Regions from separate parts of the Homo sapiens genome. Here regions 2 and 3 are each linked to region 1. The links are contacts of gene promoters, found by promoter capture Hi-C in blood cells and fetal thymus (Javierre and others, 2016). All regions are on one chromosome and are shown on one strand. Each heading gives the region's core, a stretch centred on a gene start or on the middle of the fragment in contact. The rest is flanking DNA. Distances are from core to core; before and after follow the strand shown. Region 1 holds the start of ROPN1 (rhophilin associated tail protein 1). Region 2 overlaps KALRN (kalirin RhoGEF kinase). Region 3 overlaps KALRN (kalirin RhoGEF kinase).

The links. The method cuts DNA at HindIII sites, captures the fragments that hold promoters and counts their contacts. A CHiCAGO score of 5 or more calls a contact.
Region 2: a fragment that was not itself captured here is called in contact with the fragment with the promoter of ROPN1 in region 1 in 2 of 17 cell types (endothelial precursors and M1 macrophages); the score reaches 7.0 in endothelial precursors.
Region 3: a contact is called between a fragment that was not itself captured here and the fragment with the promoter of ROPN1 in region 1, in 1 of 17 cell types (endothelial precursors). The highest score is 5.0, in endothelial precursors.

The regions. Positions count from the first base shown.
Region 1 is chr3:123,990,218-123,994,266 of GRCh38, forward strand. ROPN1 (rhophilin associated tail protein 1) reads right to left here and starts at 1,907. Exons shown (of 6, transcript NM_001317774.2): 1 at 1,705-1,907. RefSeq lists an enhancer at 1,679-2,195. The HindIII fragment of the contact is 3,137 bases long and covers 164-3,300 here.
Region 2 is chr3:124,283,335-124,287,383 of GRCh38, forward strand. All of the region lies in intron 5 of KALRN (kalirin RhoGEF kinase), which reads left to right. Among named protein-coding and RNA genes, the nearest start is that of MIR6083, 89 kb to the right of the region's middle. The HindIII fragment of the contact is 4,470 bases long and covers 1-3,970 here.
Region 3 is chr3:124,266,234-124,270,282 of GRCh38, forward strand. It overlaps KALRN (kalirin RhoGEF kinase), which reads left to right. Exons shown (of 60, transcript NM_001388419.1): 5 at 2,510-3,022. Among named protein-coding and RNA genes, the nearest start is that of MIR6083, 110 kb to the right of the region's middle. RefSeq lists enhancers at 206-729, 3,041-3,811. The HindIII fragment of the contact is 2,189 bases long and covers 930-3,118 here.

The DNA.
Region 1 (4,049 bases), core at 657-3,156:
ATATAAGAGACAAGTATTTAGGAGATAGGATCTACAGGATTTGGTAACTACTGAAGGAGGAGGAGGAGGAAGAAAAGAGGAGGTGGAGGAGGAGGAAGAAGAGAAGGTGGAGAAGGAGGAAGAGGTGAAGGACAGAAAAGTCTAGAGTGACTATCAGTTTTCAAGCTTGGATGACTGGGTGCACAGTGGTGGTACCCTTGTAGAAATAGAAAACACTAAAGGAGGGTCAGGTCAAATTATCCCCCCATGTTCCCATTTACTTTCAGGAGTTCCATGCACTTTTGAATCACAGAGTTGAAATCATAGACTCTCTGAGTTGAAGAGGCACCAAAGCCCAGCTTTCCTGCCTTTGGGCAATAAGGGTCATTTGTTCACATCAAAGAAGTGGGAGAAAGGTCCATTCTATCTTAACATTCCTCAATTCTAACATTTTGTAAAGTTATTTTCCATTTTTAAATCTCTTGATAGTGTAGGTCTTCTTCAATTATACATTCCAGAGCTTATCCATAACCCCAACTCTTTCAATTCAATGCATTTCCTCCTAAGTGAAACCTACATGCCTCTCAATGTAAAATGGAGGCCAACATATACCTGCCAAGTGCTGAAGAATGTAGGTCTTAAAATAGACTATAGCCTTGTTTCAGGGATCTCTCACTTGGTTTTATTGGTATGGGCTAAACAGGGCTTCCGTTTCATAAATGAAAGTCTCCAGTAACATGAATGAAAGGCTCCAGGGCAGAATCTCAGAGGGTTTCTATGAGTATCACTTGGAACCAAGCACAGGCAACTGCACATCCCTGTTTGGGTTTGGAATTGGAGATGGTGGGTTTGGGATGTGGTTACTCTTGTTTGGAATACATTCTCCTCCTCTTAACAGGTTGATTCTTCCTTTGGAGGTCTGCTTAACCTTCCCTGATTACCCTGTCAGTTCCATTGTACATACCCTTCCAGAGCATCACTTACCTATCCTTAGTGTGATTCTTTGAGTAACATGTGTCTCCCCCAGCAAACTCCACGGCAGGACTGGTCAGTTTTTGCTCACCACACCATCCCAGTGCCTAGCCCAGTGCCTGGAACTTAGTGTTCAATAGGTACTAGTAAAAATGAATGCGTGATAGCAGTCTATGAAGTGCTAGCTATAAAATGAACACGTGATAGGAGTCTATGAAGTGCTAGGTATAAAATAATGCGTGATAGGAGTCTATGAAGTGCTAGGTATAAAATAATATGTGATAGGAGTCTATGAAGTGCCAGGTATAAAATAATGCCTGACAGGAGTCTATGAAGTGCTAGGTATAAAATAATGTGTGATAGGAGTCTATGAAGTGCTAGGTATGCCCATGACATCCACATGACAATTCACCCAGAGGTATTTTTATATCCCTGTCGCTGATGAAAAAGCAGAGGTGTGGCTCCTCGGTGGAGGGCTCTGATTCCAAACTCTTGAGCCTCCCAACCACTGTCCTCCGGGTAAGAAACCGTATAATAGTATTCTGGGTACAAAATACGCACACAAATTGGCCAGAAAGCCATAATCCCCCACAGTCACATTCTCTTGAAGATCCCCTTGCCTTCCCCTTGCCCTGTGAACAAGGAGAGGCTCAGAATCCAGGGGGCGTCCGGCAGGGCTCCTCCCTCAGACCAGCGCAGCCCTCGGGGCGCTCAGAGCCCTGCCCTCCCTCCACTTCCCCTCGGGGTGGCTACCTCAGGCTCGCTCCCAAACCGGCTGTCTGGCTTCAGGCGACACCTGGCGCCTGGCCTCAGGCGAGAGGTGTGGGGAGAGACCGAGTGCCTCCCACCCTTCTTAAGAAGGAGAGCAGTAGAACCTCGGCGGGGAGGGCAGCAGCGGCCGGGGGTGACAGCAGCGGCGGGGCACGACCGCCGTTAGCGTTAGACGTTAGCGCTCCGCCTTCGCCTGGCAAACCCTGCGCGGGCTCCGCTGCCAGGTCACCAGGGGTAGCGCCGGGCGCGACGTCACAGAGCCGCCCCGCCTCTCCTGCAGCGGCGGGTTCCCAGGGTCCCGCTAGGGCGCTGCTAGGGGACGCTGAAAGCTGTTTTGGGCTTTGCTGGTGGTGGAAGGACCAGACGGCCTGGAGGGTTAAGGACTGGGCTGGGGACGTTAGGAAACCCGGGCTGGGGGCGTTGGGGGTGGGGCGGAATGTGTAGCCATTGACGGTGCGCTTTTGTAGGTGAGAGGGCAGAAGTGGAGCTTGATCTTTCGGCTTGTGGAAAGTGGACAGGTGAGAATTCCTCAGGAATCATAGTAACAACACTTCTTACAATGAGTTTTTGGTGCCAGGAATTGTTCTAAGTGCATTACACACATGAACTCATTTCATCCTTACTGTCACCCCATGAGGCAAGTACTATTGTTATCCCCATTTTTACAGATGAGGGAACTGAGCACAGAGAGGTTAAACTTGTCCAAGATGACAGTCAGCAAGTGACAGAGTCAGGATCTGAATCTGGGTTGCGTGGTCCCAGATTCCTCACTCTTGACCTTATAATGCTAAGAAAGGGGCATGGAGTGGATAGGAACAGAGCCTGAGATGCCTGGGGACAACAGGGAAAGATAGAAAATATTTATAGGGTAGAATGTGGTCACTGTGCCAGGGCACTTTTACAAACATGATGACATCAAAGTTTCACAGTAAACTCTGAAGGTAGGTATTACCTTCGCTTTGGAAATAAAAAACAGGCTCAAGGCTTCGAGTAATTTTGCCTGTGATCGAACAGCTGGCAGTAGGGCTCAGGGCCCAACTTTACTCCAGGTCTTCCGGTTTCAAGACTGTGTGTGTGTGTGTGTGTGTGTGTGTGTGTGTGTGTGTGTGTGTGTGTGTGTTTTGAGACAGGGTCTTGCTCTGTTGCCCAGGCTGGAGTGCAATGGGGTAATCATGACTCACTGCAGCCTCAATCTCCTAGGTCTAAGCAATCCTCCCACCTCAGCCTCCCAAGTAGCTGAGACTGCAGGTGCTTGCCACGATGACAGGCTAATTTTTATATTTTTATAAACGGGGTTTTGCCATGTTGCCCAGGCTGGTCTTGAATCCCTGGGCTCAAGTGATCCACCTGCCTTGGTCTCCCAAAGTATTGGGATTACAGGTTTGAGCTACCGCACCTGGTCTCAAGACTGTTCGTTTTAAGCACCCAAGGAGGCAAGAAAAGCCCCATCTTTCTCTGCTACATCCCGTGTCACTTCACACCTATTTTAAAGGGGCCCATTGCATCATCTAATCCTTCATTCCATTTATACAACAGTGTGTATTAGTCTAAATAGATTAGTTCACCCAGGCCCTTCAAAGCTTTCTCTGTTTGTGAGATGAAAGCCTTTGTCTCTCCCTAAAGCAATTTTAAGCATCAGTGAACAAGTGGGGGAACTAGATTTTTGGGTTACGCATGCAGAAAGCTTTTCACAGCCTGTTGTCATCCATTTGTAAAGAGGCCACTCTGCTGGCATTTGTCAAAATCCTGTAGGTCCTTGCACACCTGGAGAATCCTGGATGGTCTGGGGATGGCCACTGCCCACAGGGCAAGATCTGGGGATGAAAGAAACCTAGTCACTAGCTATCACCTGCCTTTCTGAGGCCTCTGTGGAGGGGCTGCCAGGTGTTGGTATAGGCACTTGACAAACAGGGTGTGCCTTAGGTTGGGAGGGGGAGGCTGGAGGCTTGAGGGCTGCAGGTGCATCTTCCAGGATAACAAGAATGCTCTGGCCACTGGGGTCTGTTCTGTTGTATGCACATGGGATAAAGGTGTGCCAATCTCTTCCTGCTTTCATGCAGAGTAAATAATGCTGACAGGAGTGAATAATAATGATCTTTGTGCAGAAGAAGGGGTTTTTCAGACAAAGCACTAGCAGCTAGAGATGGGAGATGAAACAGAATAGAATTTTAGTGTAGCAAGTTAAACACAAGGGAGGAATTTCATGGGACTGTCTGACTGAGGCGATTTGATGTCTGTCTGTAGGAGGCCAGGTTGAGAGGCCTAGGTTAGATTATCCTTGATCTGTTAGTCAATAAATATAACAGGATACAGTCAAGAGAATACAA
Region 2 (4,049 bases), core at 486-2,985, 290 kb after region 1:
TATTTTCTCAGCCTGGATTAAATAGGATTTGACCTCTTCAAGTCTACATTTTGGGAAGTGAGTGAAGTACATTCCCTCACTGTGTTCCTGAAAATATTTTATCAGCATTTGTGGTTCAAATGGAAGGAATTTGGCCACTCAGAGTCAATATCCCGGGGCTGTCTGGGCTGACTCCTGGCTTGGTTAGTTCTGTTTCTCATCTGCTTGACTTGCTGGCTCCTGGATGACCATTCCTTCCCCACAGGAGGGTAATGAGTGTGTTGCCAGTGCTGCAGGGAATAAAGTGCATCCAGGCTCATAGGCTGGAAATAAAATGCAAAAACACCTTATTTAAAGTCTGAAAATATTTATATTAATGACTTGGTGAGATTTTTTATTACATCACTTAACTTGAGGAGGGCAAGTGCGAGGAGAGTGGCCTTTTAAGGCTTAGCATTGAGTGTGTGCTTCTCCAGACAGCTGCTGAACTGCAGCTCATCTGTCAAGAACAGTGTGTGATTTTAGCATGAAGTTTCGCAGTCTTAGTTTCTCTAATCAGACAGCAACTACTTGTTGTGACTGCCAGTTTATCTTGTCTGAACCCAGAGGAAGTGGAAAGAGACTAGCATACATTCTGGATCTGCTATGTATCATATGCTATACTCAGAACTTTTCATATATTATCATATTATGATCTTTATCTTCTTTGACCCAGACATTTGAATAGTTTGTGTGAAAAAGATGGGAGAGGGAACAAAATGGAGGAGAAAGCGGAGGCAGAGACCATCAGTTGGTGAGAAGTCTGCAATGTGCTAGTTGGTTTTTGTTCTATGAGATCAAGGCTGGCTTGGTCTCCCCTTTGCAATGAGATAAATGCCTGTATATCTGGGAGGGTCTCAGTCTAGACACTCACTTCGTAGTTAAAAGCAAATCTGAGCTATCACTCCCCTCCAGTGGTTCCCCAATGCATCTTTTGCCCTTTGTGATCTGGTATCTCCCTATCTCCTACTATGGCTTCTTACAATCCCTCATTTTATGCTGCTGCTTTAAACCTCCAGGCCTTTGCTTAAGCTATTTCCTCTGATTAAAATGCCCTTGCAAACTACACCTTCTTTGCCTGATGAAATCCTGTTGTCTTTCAAGTGCTGTCCAGGTGTTGCCACCCAGAAGCCATCCATGCTTTTCCCTAACCCTATCTCTGCCAAGTTGGACCAAGTGCTCCTCTACTGTCAGCCCACAGTATACGTCTCTTATAGTATTTTTCACATTTTATTAACATTAACAGAATATGGAATGTGTTTGTCCCCCTCACTAGACCGTGGCCTTGATCTTTTATCACCCGTGTCTAACCCAATGTCTGGAATACGAGTGCTCAATAAGTGAATGAACAATCACACTAAACATCATGAGGGTGTGACTCTTGGTATCAGAATGCTTTGGGCTTCAAGAAACAGAAGACAGTAAAATTTGCTTAAATATCAAGGAAATGTATTATTTCACATTTTAAGTAGTCATTCAGAGACAATGATGTGAGCTTCAAGATTGATGAATCAGTGCGAGCCCATCTTCAGGCACTCAGGATTCTTTCTATCTCACTCCTCTGCTGAGATCTCACTGTTTGGCCGAGAACTTCCTTGCAAGGCTGTTTCCCTTCATGGTTCTAAGACAGCTGCCAGTTGTAACAGAGCAACATGCTTCACTCTTCCCCAAGTGATAGGGGTAGCAGGAGAAGGAGGGAGAAACACAGACATTGACTTCTGTTTCCCAGAAGCTCTAAGCAAATCTCTCCTCAATTTCGTTGGTTCATACTCATTAAGACTTGCCCAATCCTGAACATGTAAATAAAAAGGGGAGTGAAATTAGTATGACTGGTTTGAACAAATGATCTGGGGTGAACTGGATGTTAGGGAATCAATGTTCAATATACTACTCTAGAAGGAGTAGTATATCCTTCTTATCCTTAGAGTCTATCATGTCCCATTTTCTCTCTCCTTTCCTCTGGAACTCTAAGTATGCCTGTGTTAAAACTACACTACCCAACAGGACAGTCAGTAGCCACATCTGGCTAATTAAATTTAGTGGGTATAGTATACACTATTATGGTGTGATAGATACACTGAAAGCTCCAAGACTTCACCACTATGCAATCTATCCGTGTAACAAAATTGCATTTGTATCCTTTAAATTTATACAAATAAAAAAATTAATTAAAAATAAAATTTTTGGTTTGTTTGTTTTTGAGACAGAGTTTCACTCTTGTTGCCCAGGCTGGAGTGCAGTGGCATGATCCCAGCTCACTGCAACCTCTGCCTCCCGGGTTCAAGTGATTCTCCTGCCTCAACCTCCCAAGTAGCTGGGATTACAGGTGCACGCCACCATGCCTGGCTAATTTTTGTATTTTTAGTAGAGATGGGGTTTTGCCATGTCGGCCAGGCTGGTCTTGAACTCCTGACCTCAGATGATCCACCTGCCTGGGCCTCCCAAAGTGCTGGGATTACAGGCGTGAGCCACTGCACCCTGCTTAAAAATAAAATTTTAAACTCAGTTTCTCAGTTTCACTTGCCACATTTCAAATATTCAAAAGGCACCTAGTGGCAAACCAACTGGACAGGACAGACATAGAACATGTCAGTCATCACAGAAGGTTGTATTGGACGGCACTGTACTAGATCTTTTAGTTATGTCCCACATCTCTTCTGCTGTGTCCTGTGCTTCTATTTGCTTTTCTCTCTGTGCTTCAGTGTGCTGTTTTCTTTCTTTCTTTCCTTCCTTTCTTTCTTTCTTTCTTTCTTTCTTTCTTTCTTTCTTTCTTTCTTTCTTTCTTTCCTTTCTTTCTTTCCTTTCTTTCGTCTTTCTTTCTTTCTCTTTCTTCCTTCCTTCCTTTCTCTTTTCTCTTTTTCTCTTTCTTTCTTTCTTTTCTTCTCTTCCTCTCTTTCTCTCTTGCTCTCTCTCTCTTTCTCCCTTCCTCTTCCCCTTCCCCTTCCTCTTCCCCTTTCCCTTTTTGTGCTGCAAACTCCGCCTTCTGGTTTCAAGCAATTCTCCCACCTCAGCCTCCCGAGTAGCTAGTAGCTGGAATTACAGGCGCCTGCCACCACGCCTGGCTATATTTTTGTCTTTTTAGTAGAGACAGGGTTTTGCTGTGTTGGCCAGGCTGGTCTGAAACTCCTGACCTTGTGATCTGTCTGCCTTGGTCTCCCAAAGTGCTGGGATTACAGGCATGAACCACTGCACCCTGCCCAGTGTGCTGTTTTCTATTGATTTGTTTTCAAGTTCATTCATCCTGCTTGCTGCTGCATCTATTCTGCCATTACACTCATCCAGTGAATTCTTAAGTTCAGTATTATACTCTGCAATTCTAGAATGTTCATACAATTCTTTTTATAGATTATGATTCTCCATTGGAACATTCCATTTTTTAATCCATTTTGTCCCTTCCCCCCATTTTTTTAAGATGTCAATCATAGTTATTTTGAAAGCCTTGTCTGCTAATTCATATCTGGATCATCTTCTATAGACAATTTTATTGTTTTGATTATCAGTAATTTTTCTCTGTCTCTTTATATATCTTATAATTTACATTGTATAGTGGATATTGTAGATGATACACTGTAGAGGCTCTTGATAGTTTATCTTTCCCTAAATATCTTAAAGTCTTATTCAAGAATACAATTAAATTACAAAAGATTATATTGATCTAATTGAGCCTTGGTTTAGACTTTGGTATGGTAGGTATATTTTTATCTTTTTATTAATCCTAGTGTATAGCCCTTATTCTAAACATGTGGCTCTTATTCCTATAGCTTGGTGTTTCTGGGGTCACAAATGAATGCCCAGAGAGCTCATGAAAGCCTCTCTACTCTGTTTGAATTAGAACTCCCAGCATTTCCCCAGCACTGTGTGACCTCTAAAATTTCTTTTTAGCTCTTAATATGCCCCACCTCTCATACCTGTTCTCTGCTAGACTTTCTGGAGTCTTGTCCTGCATATGCAAAGCTTGGGATTTGGCTAAGGACCTGAGGGAAATTTTAGTGAAGACTTTAAGGTAGCTCCTCTGCATCTCCCTCCACTGT
Region 3 (4,049 bases), core at 774-3,273, 280 kb after region 1:
CAGGTGATAAAACAATATGGACACTATAATCTGAGATTTGTTTTTAAAGTGCATGTATGGAGAAGAAAACTGAGATTGAAGATGTTAGTGATGGTTTATTCTACGTGACTGGATAGTGGATGGTTTTTATTTACTTCATATGTTTTTATTTTTTTCAAGGATGATGTATTACTTTCATAATCAAGGAAAACATGTTTTTAAACTAAATTTTCTGGAGGGTATATGTTTCCCCTGAGAATTTTCAATGACAATACATCAGATTAAATCAATGATTTAAGCGTCTGTATTCCAGCCAAATATAAACTGTTCCCTTCCTCAGAATTCTAGTCCTCATCTGCAAGGGGATGAACTTTTAAATGTGTGTGTGTTGAAAACACAGAGCTGCTTTTAATCTTTCAGCAGCTTCCCATTCCAGACTTTTGTGCCCTGGGGGCCAGGAGCGCCTGTGTGTGGTGTCAAATAGGCTGTGATTTGAGCACAATGACCTGACACTTGATGCAGGCGATTCTCACTCTGTGTAAACAATACAAGAAATTTGGCTTGGTATAAAAACAGTGACCTATTATAGTCTCCTGGCACCCCTCCAGAACACTAGAAGTCCTGCAGGGAAATGCTTTCTATATTTTGGCTTGTTTATACAGAGGTGGTGACAACAAGCCTATAGATGTATAAGCTGAAGAGACTGAAAAGCATCTTTTCAGTAAGTCTTGATACTTCTGCTTCAGCATTGCTGGCCTGCATGTCCCATCTCTCTGTACCTCTTTCACTCTAAGTTGAACAAGCTTGTCTCTGCCTCCTAAATAAGAGGATAGGAGAGATAGCTGGGGGCCTCCCAATCAAAGGAATATTTATAAGGCAGTATCTTAAAAACAGTGAATTTAATACTTAGTGCAGACTGGGGTGACAAGTGATACAGAGATGAGAGTATAAGCTTGTTCAACAACAGATACTTATACAACAGATATATAATAATTGGTAAGTATAATGATGGAGGACTTCCCGGAAGTGGTAAACTTTGAGCCAAATTTGAAGGAGAAAGTACTTTGGAATAGGGTTTCTCAAGTTTAATGCACACAAATCTCCTGGGGATTTTGAAAATGCAGATTCTGCCTCAATAGGTCTGGGGTAAGGCCTAAGATTCTGCATTTCTAACAAGCTCCCATGTGATGCCAATACTGCTGGTCTGAGAGCTATGCTTTGAGTAGCAAGGATGGAGATTAGCAGGAGTTTGCAACTCTACTTGCACATTAGAATCATCTGAGGGACTCTTAAACCTACTGATGTCCAAGCTCCCATTTAGCCAATTAAATCAGAATTTCTAGGGATGAGGTTTGAGCATTGGTATTTTTGCACACTCCCCAAAGGATTCTAATGAGCAGTCAAGTTTGACAACCATTGTTCCAGACCAGTCCTCCTGCCTATGGCACCTCCTTCCTTCCTCTTAGGAGAGGGGTGGAAAGAGAAGGAACAAAGAGGGGATGCTCAGAGAGTGGCAAGACACAGAGAGATAAATTGCTTTTCAGGTTTTGAGTAATGATGCAGCCTTCAGATCATCAGAGTGAGCACTAACAGGGATTGAGCATGTACTCCATGCTATGCACCCTATGTGCTTTACACACATTGATACATTTAATCTCTGCAAGCCCCATGAGGAAGGAATAATTATCTCCATTACACAGAGGAGGAGACTGAGGCTCTGAGACCTTAATAGCTTGCCCTGGGTCACACAGTTAATAAGCATAGGGCTGGGACCCAAACACAGATATTAATTTGCTAGCCTCTCATTCTTCATGAGAAAGAAGAGAAGCCTAAAGCCCTATAGGAAGGAAAAGATGTTTACTAATAAACTAAGGTGGTTGCCTGCATCATCATTTGCTGGAGACACTTTCCTTCCTGGAGACAAACATTCTCCAGTCCGCTCTCCAGGAGCTTGTAGGGGCCTCACAGAGAAAACCAAGGGCGCAGACTCCCCTGTTGCCCATCCCTAGTTCTGTTCACCATACCACAGAAGAGCTAAAAGGGAGAGCCTTGGAAAAGATAAGACTGTGAAATCTTTGCAGCCCAAGCACTGGCCCATGTTGCTTAATCCAACTATGATGATACCCTGGGTCCACGGGCCTTGGTTTTAAAGCTGTGGAAAACTGTCCCCCAGAAACTAGGTCAGTTTTTCTTCCAGCTTCTGCTTCTAGCCTCTGAAGCCCTTTTGAAGTGAACTGGGGTCAGGAGGAGGGAAAATGAGGAGAGGAGGGACACAAAAGCAGTTCTTCTGGGGTGGTAAATGGCTGGCAGTTGTAGAGGCTTGCTAAAGCAGTCAGCAGTCTGTAGAAACTGCTGATCCTGACTGATCTGTGACTCCTGACCAGTGAGTCCCATGGCCTCCACTCACCATTTCCGAGGCAGGCTGTGGTCATTATTATGTGGATTTATCTTGTCCTTTCCCTCATCCTATTTCTGCCCTGTTCTTCCCCTGACATCACTGAGTATCCTTGTCTGTGTCTGCCCCTTCCAGACGAGCATGGTATCTGTGGAGGGCCTCACAAAGCTGGTGGACCCCTCCCAGCTGACGGAGGAGTTTGATGGCTCCCTGGACTACAACCATGAGGAGTGGATCGAACTGCGGCTCTCCCTGGAGGAGTTCTTCAACAGCGCCGTGCACCTGCTCTCGCGCCTCGAGGACCTCCAGGAGATGCTAGCCCGGAAGGAGTTTCCTGTGGATGTGGAGGGCTCTCGGCGGCTCATTGACGAACACACACAGCTCAAGAAAAAGGTGCTGAAGGCCCCTGTGGAGGAGCTGGACCGGGAGGGGCAGCGGCTGCTGCAGTGCATCCGCTGCAGCGACGGCTTCTCAGGACGCAACTGCATCCCGGGCAGTGCTGACTTCCAGAGCCTGGTGCCCAAGATCACCAGTCTCCTGGACAAGCTGCACTCCACCCGGCAGCACCTGCACCAGATGTGGCATGTGCGCAAGCTCAAGCTGGACCAGTGCTTTCAGCTGCGGCTCTTCGAGCAGGATGCTGAGAAGGTAGGAAGGGAACAGGCCAAACCTGAGCCGGGATGGGGGTGAGGGAGCAGAGGTTGCTCATCCAACTTTCTGATTAATGATAGTACTTTCCTGGAAAGCTTTAAAACAGTGTGCCTACTAGTTTTAGCTAATGTAATTTTTTTAAGCTCACCCTTATATAGTGTGTATTATGTGCCCAGTATTGTTCTAAGCACTGTGTGTAAATTTACTCATTTTAATCCTTTCAAGAGTCCTGAGAGGTAGATGTACTATTATAATCACATTTTACAGATGAAGAAACTGAAAGGTTAAAGAATTCACCAAGCTGGGAAGTGCAGTCTGGCTCCAGGGTCCCTGCTTTTACCTACTGTTAGAAGCTGCCCCGAGTGCCTGCAATGAGTGGCTCAAGCCAGCTAAGGAACAAAAACAGTACTGTTAACAGCCACTATAATATTAATTAGTGATTATGGCCCTGCAATGTATTTTACCATTGACAAACCACTTTCACACAGTCTTATTTAATCTGCATAATCCTTTGATCCTTATGGGTTGAGTGGTGGCATCTCTCTTGACATGCAGGGAAACGGATGTTCTTTGATCTTGGGTCTACAGTGACAGAGCTGACATCTGAATCCAGCATTTTTCTGTTTCTAAGTCCAGGGCTCTTCCTGCCATACCCACTTGTTTCCAAAGGTTTCTCTTCAGCTGCTAAGCACTTTCTTGAGTAAGACACCATTTTTTCCAGCAGTGAATTTTCAAAGCTTTCCCCTTATCAGGGAAAAGTAAGATAAGAGAATGTAAAAAAGGAAAATTGCATATAGTGCCTCTTTGCTGAGGATACAAAGGTATCTTTCCTAGATTCTCTTTAAGCTAAAGAGAAGAAAGAAGAGTTTACTATTATATGTGCTTTAAGAAGAATAAAATAGGCTCTCTTCCTATGAGTTTTCTGGATATAACTTATATTTAAATGGCCAATACTGTTCTTAGGGATGCCATGACATCTCTCAGTAACCTGTGAATTTTACAATGTCTGATATCATGGTTTTCT